Linked DNA regions of Homo sapiens: all the other regions are linked to region 1. The links are contacts of gene promoters, found by promoter capture Hi-C in blood cells and fetal thymus (Javierre and others, 2016). All regions are on one chromosome and are shown on one strand. Each heading gives the region's core, a stretch centred on a gene start or on the middle of the fragment in contact. The rest is flanking DNA. Distances are from core to core; before and after follow the strand shown.

Region 1 (2,781 bases), core at 77-2,576:
CTCTAAACTTGGCCCTGAGATGCCTACTACATCGCCTGGGTTTGAATCCCACCCCTTAAACCAGCAGCATATTTGGCAACTTGGAATCTTTTAGCCACACTTGGAACGTCCGTAACATTGAAACAAGAATGCCCCATAGTGTAGTGGATGAGGGGAGTCGAATGGGAATCTCCGTAGAGCTCGCGGCACAATGTACCGCACGGACAGGCGAGCGAGGAGGCGCGCGGGCACTGCGGCCGCCCTCATGCTAGCCCCCGCCCCCTCGCAGGCTCCCGGCCTTCGCCAACCTGCAGGAGGCGCTGCTGGAGAACATGATCCAGAACATCCTGGTGGAGGCGAGCCGCGGGGAGGTGGTACTCACCTCGCGGCCACGCGTCATCGCCCTGCCGCCGTTCTGCGTGCCCAGGTAAGGGCGCCGGGACCAGCGGCCGCGCAGACCGCGCGAGAGGGGCCACGGGGGCAGCCAGGCTCTGCCCGAAGCCTCGCCCCCACGCCTACCTGGGACTTTTTGTCTTCCAGGAGTCTGACCCCGGACACGCTGCTGCCGACGCAGCAAGCAGAGGTACTCCACCCGGTGGTGCCACTTCCTACCGACCTTCCGTAAATGCCCGCGCCCAGCCTCTCCGACATGCCGCTAGGGGTCACGCCTGGCCCCCTCTCCACCGCCAGTAAAAGCATCTAGTCTTTTTTCTGTATCTACCTTGACTTTATTTCCCCGACGAGGGGGAACGCGCGCGCGAGCTCTGAGAGGGAAGGATGGCAGGGAGCAGCCCGGGCGGACTGCAGAGGCGCGGCGGGAACTTAGGGCCCGGGAGGATGCACCTCTCCGCCCACACTGCAGCTGGACTGAGACCTGGCCGCTAGCTGCCGGCCGCTGGACCGGGTCTGGCCAGTGGAGGGCGCTCCGGACGGGGCCTGGCTGGCCTTTGCCCCAGCGCACCTTGGTGCACAGTAACTGAGTGCCAGGCCTGGCCAGCGAAGCAGGTGTCCACTGGGCAGGGCGGCCACCCCTCACCTTTCCGCGCCGCGCCTGCTCGGAGGCTTAGCACCCCCAGGGCCAGCCCCTTAGCATTTGCCGAGCTCCGAGTGCCCAAGAGGCTGGGGAGGAAGAACTGAGGCACGCCGCGGAGGGCCAGGAACTAGGCTGGGGCGGGTCGAGGTCACCACTGGATTTCGGGCCACAGACCCTGCTAAGCGACTCCCACTGTGAATCAGTCCTCAGACGAGGATGGATACCCACCTCTCGGTTCCTCCTAACCCCCGCCCGGGAGCTTCTGTCCTCTGCTTCTCGGCTCCTCCCTCCCAGAGGCAGGTGGGTGGAAAAGTGACATCTGGTGTTGTTCCAGAGGCGCCCAGGGTCCCCAGCACCCTCCCCTCCGCCCCCGCCACCAAGGCCTCGGAGAAGCTCCGGTCTCAGAGCCCGGGCGGGGGAGGGGGGAGCGCTCCGCCTCCATGAGTCAATATTTGCCCCGAGCAAACGGGCGCCTGGACAGGTGTGAGTGTGTGTGTCTGGGGGCGGGGACTGAACAGGCAGTATAAGAGCACACGGAGCCCGGGCTCCGGGACAAGCTCCAAGGCGTGGGCTGGGGACGAAGCCAAGCTAGGCTGGGCCGGGCGGAGGGGCCAGGAAAGCCGGGCGGAGGGTGGCTGGGAAAGGAGGGGCGGGCCAGGTGCGCACCTGCGGTGGCCGCCGCGGCCGCCGACGTGTCAGCCGCAGATGCGTTCAGGTGAGGGCGGAGGCTAGCGGGGCGCTGTGCAGCACTGAGCTCGCGGAAGACCAGGACCAGGAGATCACCGAGGGCGACCGCCAGGCCCCGGGCCCTCCGCTCCCGCCCCGCGACGAGCCCCTCGCACAAACCGGACCTGAGCGTTTTGTTCGTTCGGCTCGCGTGAGGCAGGGGCGGCCTCTCAGCACCAGCCCGGGGGCCGGCCTGATCGCCACGCAGGCACCTGCCGCCGCCACCGCCACCGCCATCTCAACCGTACGGGTGGGAGAGGCTGTGCGCCGCTCCAGGGGAGATCCGGCTCCCATCCGGCCCCACCCGCCCTGCCTTGCCCTGCCCGCAGCTTCTGGGCTGCCAGGCTCCATTCTGCGTCGTAATACGGGCTGAGCCGGCTCCAGCGGGTGGCGAAGGGGGCCGTGGCCCAGAACAGAAACCCTTCTGGAGGTGGAAACCCGGATTCTAGTCCGCCTCTGTCCCCGCGACTTCTATGGCCTTGGGCAAGTCATTTCCCGGCCTCTTGGTTTTCCCATTTGCTCAGTGAACGGTTGGTCTGGCCTCCCGCAGGGGCTAGGCCCTCCCCAGCCTCCTGTCCCGGTTCCTGGGCTCCTGGTCATGCTGGGGAAGATGCAGGCCCTCACGGAGTTGGAGCCAAGGCTGAGGTGTGGAAAATCTGGGCGGGGGAAGCTGAGGGCCACCATGGAGCCTCAAATCCACTCCTCGGATCTCTGTGGTGCTGCTGACATCCTGAGATGTCACTCCCTGACACTCCCTTGGTCCCTCTTTCAGTCTAAAAACGTCTGAGACAGTCAGACTGACTGAAAAGGACAAGCCCCCAGGCACAGCGGTTCACCACCTTCCTCAAACCTCAGAATCCCACATCCTCGCTTCCATCAGCTGGGGTGGGGTAGGTAGGTGGCCCTCAGCTCAGGCAGAGGCAGCCCCGGGAGATGGGAACCAGGGTCAGAAGTCCCTCCAAACTGCATGTTCCTAGAGGTGCTGGATTGTCCCCTCCACCACCACCCGCTCTAGTGCCCCTATGTCACCCAACTACCCAGAG
Region 2 (2,781 bases), core at 83-2,582, 360 kb before region 1:
TCAGCCTCCTGAGTAGCAGTGATTACAGGCACCTACCACCACGCCCAGCTAATTTTTGTATTTTTAGTAGAGATGGGGTTTCGCCATGTTGGCCAGGCTGGTAATGTACTATAATAAAGTGGACATCCCAAGAATGCAGGTTTACTTCAACATATTAAAATTAATTAATGTAATACATTATATTATAGAATAAAGAGCAAAACCCACATGATCTCAATTGATGCAGAAAAAGCATTTGGTACAATCCCAAACCCTTTCATAATAAAAATATTCAACATTCAGAAATAGAAAAGAGCTTGCTCAACCTGATAAAGGCATCTATGAAAAACCCACGGCTGGCTAGGCACAGTGGCTCCCGCCTGTAATCCCAGCACTTTGGGAGGCCGAGGCGGGCGGATCACCTGAGGTCAGGAATTGGAGACCAGACTGGCCAACATGGCGAAACCCCATCTCTACTAAAAATACAAAAATTAGCTGGGTATGGTGGCATGTGCCTGTAATTCCAGCTACTAGGGAGGCTGAGGCAGGAGAATCGCTTGAACCCGGAAGGTGGAGTTTGCAGTGGGCCGATATCGCGCCACTGCACTCCAGCTTGGGTGACAGAGCAAGACTCGGTCTCAAATAATAATAATAATAATAATTTCTTCATACCTTGCATACTTTGCATACAAAGTTGTTTCCCTCCATCCTATGATGTCTAATTGTTTTATTTATGTATACTTATTATAAGTTTTAACCCTTAGTGACCCTAATTTGCTGTGAAAACTAGGAAGCAGGCAATTGTGAACTGCCTGTCATATATCGGCATCTTGTAGTAGATTAGTAAATTTATGAATATACTATTTTATAATTTCAGGAACATATGCTTCCTAATATAGTACAGTCTTTCAGTGTGGCAAAGAACATGCTTATTAGTAGACCCAAATATATTTAGCTTCTCTATATCATATAAAAATAAGATGCCAGAAGTATATACGCTTAAATTTATGCTTAGTAGTTAATGTTTCAGTAGTTTATCTTACTTACAAATGGTTCAGACATTTAATGAATATCTACTGCTTAATTTAACCTAACTTTAAGTTTGCAAGTTACCAAATAAGATTTGGAAACTGATTCAGGCAGACATACTGTAACATCAAACAAAGCTAGCCATCATCTCAAGTTATTTTTCTTGTTGACAAATCAGGTAAGTGTAAAAAATGGCCAGGCATGGTGGCTTACGCCTATAATCCCAGCACTTTGGCATGCCGAAGTGGACAGATCCCTTGAGCCCAGGAGTTCGAGACCAGCTTAGGCAACATGGCCAAACCCCATCTATACAAAAATTGTCTGTCCATGGTGGCATTCTCCTGAAGTTTTAGCTACTTGGGAGGCTGAGGTGGTAAGAATTGCTCGAGCCTGGGAGGTTGAGGCTGCAATGAGCCATAATCATGCCATTGTACTCCAGCCTGGGCAACAAAGCTAAACCCTGTTTAAAAAAAAATAACAGAAGCAAAAAACCTAAAAATTTAAATATATGGTTCTTCTCTGTCTTTTTTTAAAAACTGCTATGCTTGATATGCATCAAGCAATTTATTTTTATTGTATATTTTATTCTTAGTTTAGATTTATAGTTTTATAACCTTAAACATCTAGTTGATATAACATTGTTTGACCAGTAAACCCAGGTAAAATAAAATTGTAGTTCTGCATTCTATTTAATGCTGACAACTCCAAAGACATTTCTGCTTTTATTTTATCAACAATTTTTTTTTTTTTTTTTTTTTTTTTTTTTTTTTTTTTTTACAGAGCCTGGCTCTGTCACCCAGGCTGGAGTGCAATGGAATGGAGCCATCTTGGCTTACTGCAACCTCCGCCTCCTGAGTTCAAGTGATTCTCCTGCCTCAGCCTCCTGAGTAGCTGGGATTACAGGTGTGTACCACCACGCCCAGCTAATTTTTGTATTTTTAGTAGAGGCGGAGTTTCACCATGTTGGTCAGGCTGGTCTTGAACTCCTGACCTTGTGATCAACCTGCCTCGGCCTCCCAAAGTGCTAGGATTACAGGCGTGAGCCACTGTACCTGGCTTTTTTTTTTTTTAATCTATATAAACAAGGTCTCACTCTGCTGCCCAGACTGGATTGCAGTGGTGTGAACACAGCTCACTGCAGCCTTGAACTTCTAAGCTCAAGGGATTCACCTGCCTCAGCCTCCCAACTAGCTGGGATTACAGGCGCCTGCCACCACGCCAGTCTAATTTTTTGTATTTTTAGTAGAGGCGGGGTTTCACCATGTTGGCCAGGCTTATCTTGAACTCCTGACCTCAAGTGATCCACCCACCTCGGCCTCCCAAAGTGCGGGGATTACAGGCGTGAGCCCCTAAGCCCGGCCTACTTTTTAAACTTTTTGTAAAGACCAAGTCTCAGTATGTTGTCCAAGCTGGTTTCAAACTCCTGGGCGCAAGTAATGCTCCTGTCTCAGCCTCCCAAAGCACTGGGATTAGGGGTGTGAGCCACTGCGCCCAGCCTGCCAACAATCTTAAAACTAATTTTATTTACCCAAAAGACTTAACAAGGCCCATGTGTTCAGATTCCTGTCTGTGTCCCCATCTTTGGAGGAAGGACACCTTTCACATGGGGAAAGGATCAGGGAGATCCCTTCAGGAGAGAAGGATCAGGGAAGTCAGAGAGATTGTCCTGCACATGCTGTTTCTCAGATCCTTCCAGCTTAAAATATTCAACATGCCAGTGTGCCATGTTTCTGGGTGGCATGTCCTGAACCCTCTTATTGGATAGTATAAATG
Region 3 (2,781 bases), core at 173-2,672, 300 kb after region 1:
CCTCACCTCCAATCAGTCAAGAAATCCTGTTTGTTCCATGTTCAAAATATATTCAAAATTTGACTACTTTTTTATCACTCCATAGGTATCACCCCAGTCGCCATCCAGGACACCATTGTCTCTTGCCTGGATTATTATAACAATAGCCTCCTAACTGCTTATCCTACTTCGCATTCTCCCCTACTCCCCATAGCCATTCACAAGACCAGAATGAAGAATGATCCGTTTAGGATGCAAGGTAGTTCATAAAATTCTCTGTTCAAAAGCCTGCAATAGATGCCTCCTTCATTCAAAGTAAGAGCCCAAGTCTTCACCAAGGTCTACAAAGCCTACAATATCTGGCCCCCACCATTACCTTCCTGTCTCATTTCCTACTATTCTCCACCTTCTTTACTCACTTAATCCATACTGGTTCCTCATAGCTCCTCAAGCATGCCAGGCATGCTTTCATCTCAGGGCCTTGGCTTTTCCCCAAAATAGGTGCACAACTCACTCCCTCGCCTCCTTCGAGTCTTTTCTCAAGTGTCACCTTCTAGTGAGGCCTACCCTGACCATCCGACTCAGCACTCCTCATCTCCTTTCCCTGGTTTCTTTTTCTCCATAGCTTTTACCACCTTCCTACATACTATTCTTTTAATAATTTCACTATCTCCCCGACCAGAATGGAAACTCTATGATGGGCACTGTTTTATCTCCTGTACCTAGAATAGTATCTGGCATACAGAAAGGACTCAAAAAATATACATTGAACTGAATTGAGATAATCTGGATAGAAGAAAATTATGGTGCTCCCTAGAAAAATATTATTTTTGCTAAAGTATAAACACTGTGGACAATGAAGATGAGGGTTAAACAAAATTTCTTATAAAAATAAGGGCACTTTACTTGTCTTTCATTTCTAAAACAACTGGAATTTAAGGAAGGACAGAAAGGAGTCTCCTCATTTTATGGATGGAGAAATCAAGGCCCTGGAAGCTTGTTCTAAGCCATCCAATGAGTTAAGGTTTTCCAATGCTTCCAGTTAGATTATAATTCTAACAGGTCTGACTAAAAGCCCTTTCTGGTAAATTGTACAATCTTTAAAATAGCTATCCTTCTACAGCAGCTTGGAGTCCCTACACATTAGAACTCCACTAAATATTAAAATTAGTCACTAAGTCTGAGCAACCTAATTGACCGCTCTGTTGAATCTTACCCTTTCCTATTTCAGCTCCACCGGCCTTGACTTGAAAGTAGGTAACCAAATATAGTTCATCTAGGAAGGGGGAAATTGGTAAAGGCAAGAAATGATATAAATAAGCTGCCAGACCAGGATCTTGTGTGAACACGATACCAGCACCTCCAACACCACATAGAAGCTGAAAGAGGGGTTGAGCCTCTCAACCCTTGTCCTGGGAGCTTCAAGTATGGTGAGGCACAACTTTTATTAAAAGAGTTTACAAACAGAACTATTAAACACACACACACATACACACACACATATACACACACACCCCAAAAAAAGATACACTCTCCACGCCCACCCACAGATAGGAATGTTGGCTAAGGGATAATCCCTCAATAACAGGGACTGATGGCATTGATCCCCACAGCCTAGAGCTGAGACAGGCTCTGTCTTCATCACTGTCCTGGGGCCAGCACGTCTAAGGCAAAAACCTGCTGGGAAGATTAAAGGAGCTCCAGAAAGGAAGAGATCTTTCAGGTTGAGGTTTTTCCCTAAGGTCCGTGAGGCAGGTCCCTAGAGTTAAAGGCACATTATTGGAGAAAAGGCCCCTGGATGTAGAGAAGAAAGGACTCTTCTCTGGCACCAACAGCAATAAAATTTACTGGTTGAAAACATCCTGCATCTGGGAGAAGGAAGAAGCTTTATATATAAATCTCTTCTAGTTTCTTGTTCTCAGTTGAGTTGGCAGCTTATCTCTTTTCTAGTCTCTTTAGCTCTCAGTTGAGTTGGCGGCTTGTGTAGTAGAATAAGAAAGAGCTGGCAACCAAAGTTGGAGGCTGGACCGCAGGAATCTGGAATCACATGCTATGGGCTGGCCTCAGGAGGTGAATGAGTTTCCTGCAGTGTTTGGCAGAGGCAGGCCTAGGACTGCTGTGTGGCAGTGACTGATTCCCCAGAGAGAGCAAGGATAGTTTCTCACTGGCACCCAGGGACACCAGTACCTGTAGGATAGAGAACAGATGATAGAACAGAACATGAGGCTCAGAAATGGTGGTGTCTGGGGCAGGTGCGGAGGACTCTCATTTACCCAGGAATTCCCACTCGAGAAGAGGAAGAAAAAGGAAATGGGCTCTTGGGGACTTGGAATAGACTGAATGGCAGAAGAGAAACCTTGGAGATAGGAATCATCAGGACCAGAAGTCTACTTCCATTCTCTTTGGTTATAGACCATGAAACCAAGGCACTAAGGGACACATATACTTGTCCCCAGGAAGACTTGATGAATGCAGCAGTAACTCACAGTAAGCCAAAAGGTCTAATTCCTAGCCTTCAATGCAGACCAGTGAGTTCTAACCTCATTACCACCAAGAATCCCATTAATTATTTTCCCCATGGATTGCACAAGATTCCTATAGGATCTTCACCATCGGCCAGGCAAGGTGGCTCATGCCTGTAATCCCGTACTTTGGGAGGCCAAGGCGGGCGGGTCACGAGGTCAGGACATCGAGACCATCCTGGCTATCACGGTGAAACCCCGTCTCTACTAAAAAAAAAAAAAATACAAAAAATTAGCTGGGTGTGGCGGCAGGTGCCTGTAGTCCCAGCTACTCGGGAGG

Evidence for each region. Contacts are between HindIII fragments. The CHiCAGO score rates a contact against its expected background, and 5 or more counts as called.
Region 2: a fragment that was not itself captured here is called in contact with the fragment with the promoter of CFAP65-AS1 in region 1 in 1 of 17 cell types (M2 macrophages); the score reaches 5.6 in M2 macrophages.
Region 3: a contact is called between a fragment that was not itself captured here and the fragment with the promoter of CFAP65-AS1 in region 1, in 2 of 17 cell types (M2 macrophages and M1 macrophages). The highest score is 7.4, in M2 macrophages.

The regions. Positions count from the first base shown.
Region 1 is chr2:219,000,760-219,003,540 of GRCh38, reverse strand. It overlaps CFAP65-AS1 (CFAP65 antisense RNA 1), which reads right to left and starts at 1,326. Exons shown (of 3, transcript NR_046086.1): 1 at 1,241-1,326. It overlaps CFAP65 (cilia and flagella associated protein 65), which reads left to right. Exons shown (of 35, transcript NM_194302.4): 34 at 269-406; 35 at 520-695. The coding sequence ends at 604. It overlaps MIR375 (microRNA 375), which reads left to right and starts at 1,833; the gene lies at 1,833-1,896. RefSeq lists an enhancer at 1,260-1,554. The HindIII fragment of the contact is 13,795 bases long and covers 1-2,781 here.
Region 2 is chr2:219,364,296-219,367,076 of GRCh38, reverse strand. The region is part of intron 1 of LOC105373883 (a long non-coding RNA gene); the gene reads left to right. Among named protein-coding and RNA genes, the nearest start is that of DNPEP, 22 kb to the left of the region's middle. The HindIII fragment of the contact is 3,139 bases long and covers 1-2,781 here.
Region 3 is chr2:218,701,251-218,704,031 of GRCh38, reverse strand. STK36 (serine/threonine kinase 36) reads right to left here. Exons shown (of 27, transcript NM_015690.5): 27 at 1,317-2,166. The coding sequence ends at 2,023. Among named protein-coding and RNA genes, the nearest start is that of TTLL4, 8.2 kb to the left of the region's middle. The HindIII fragment of the contact is 889 bases long and covers 978-1,866 here.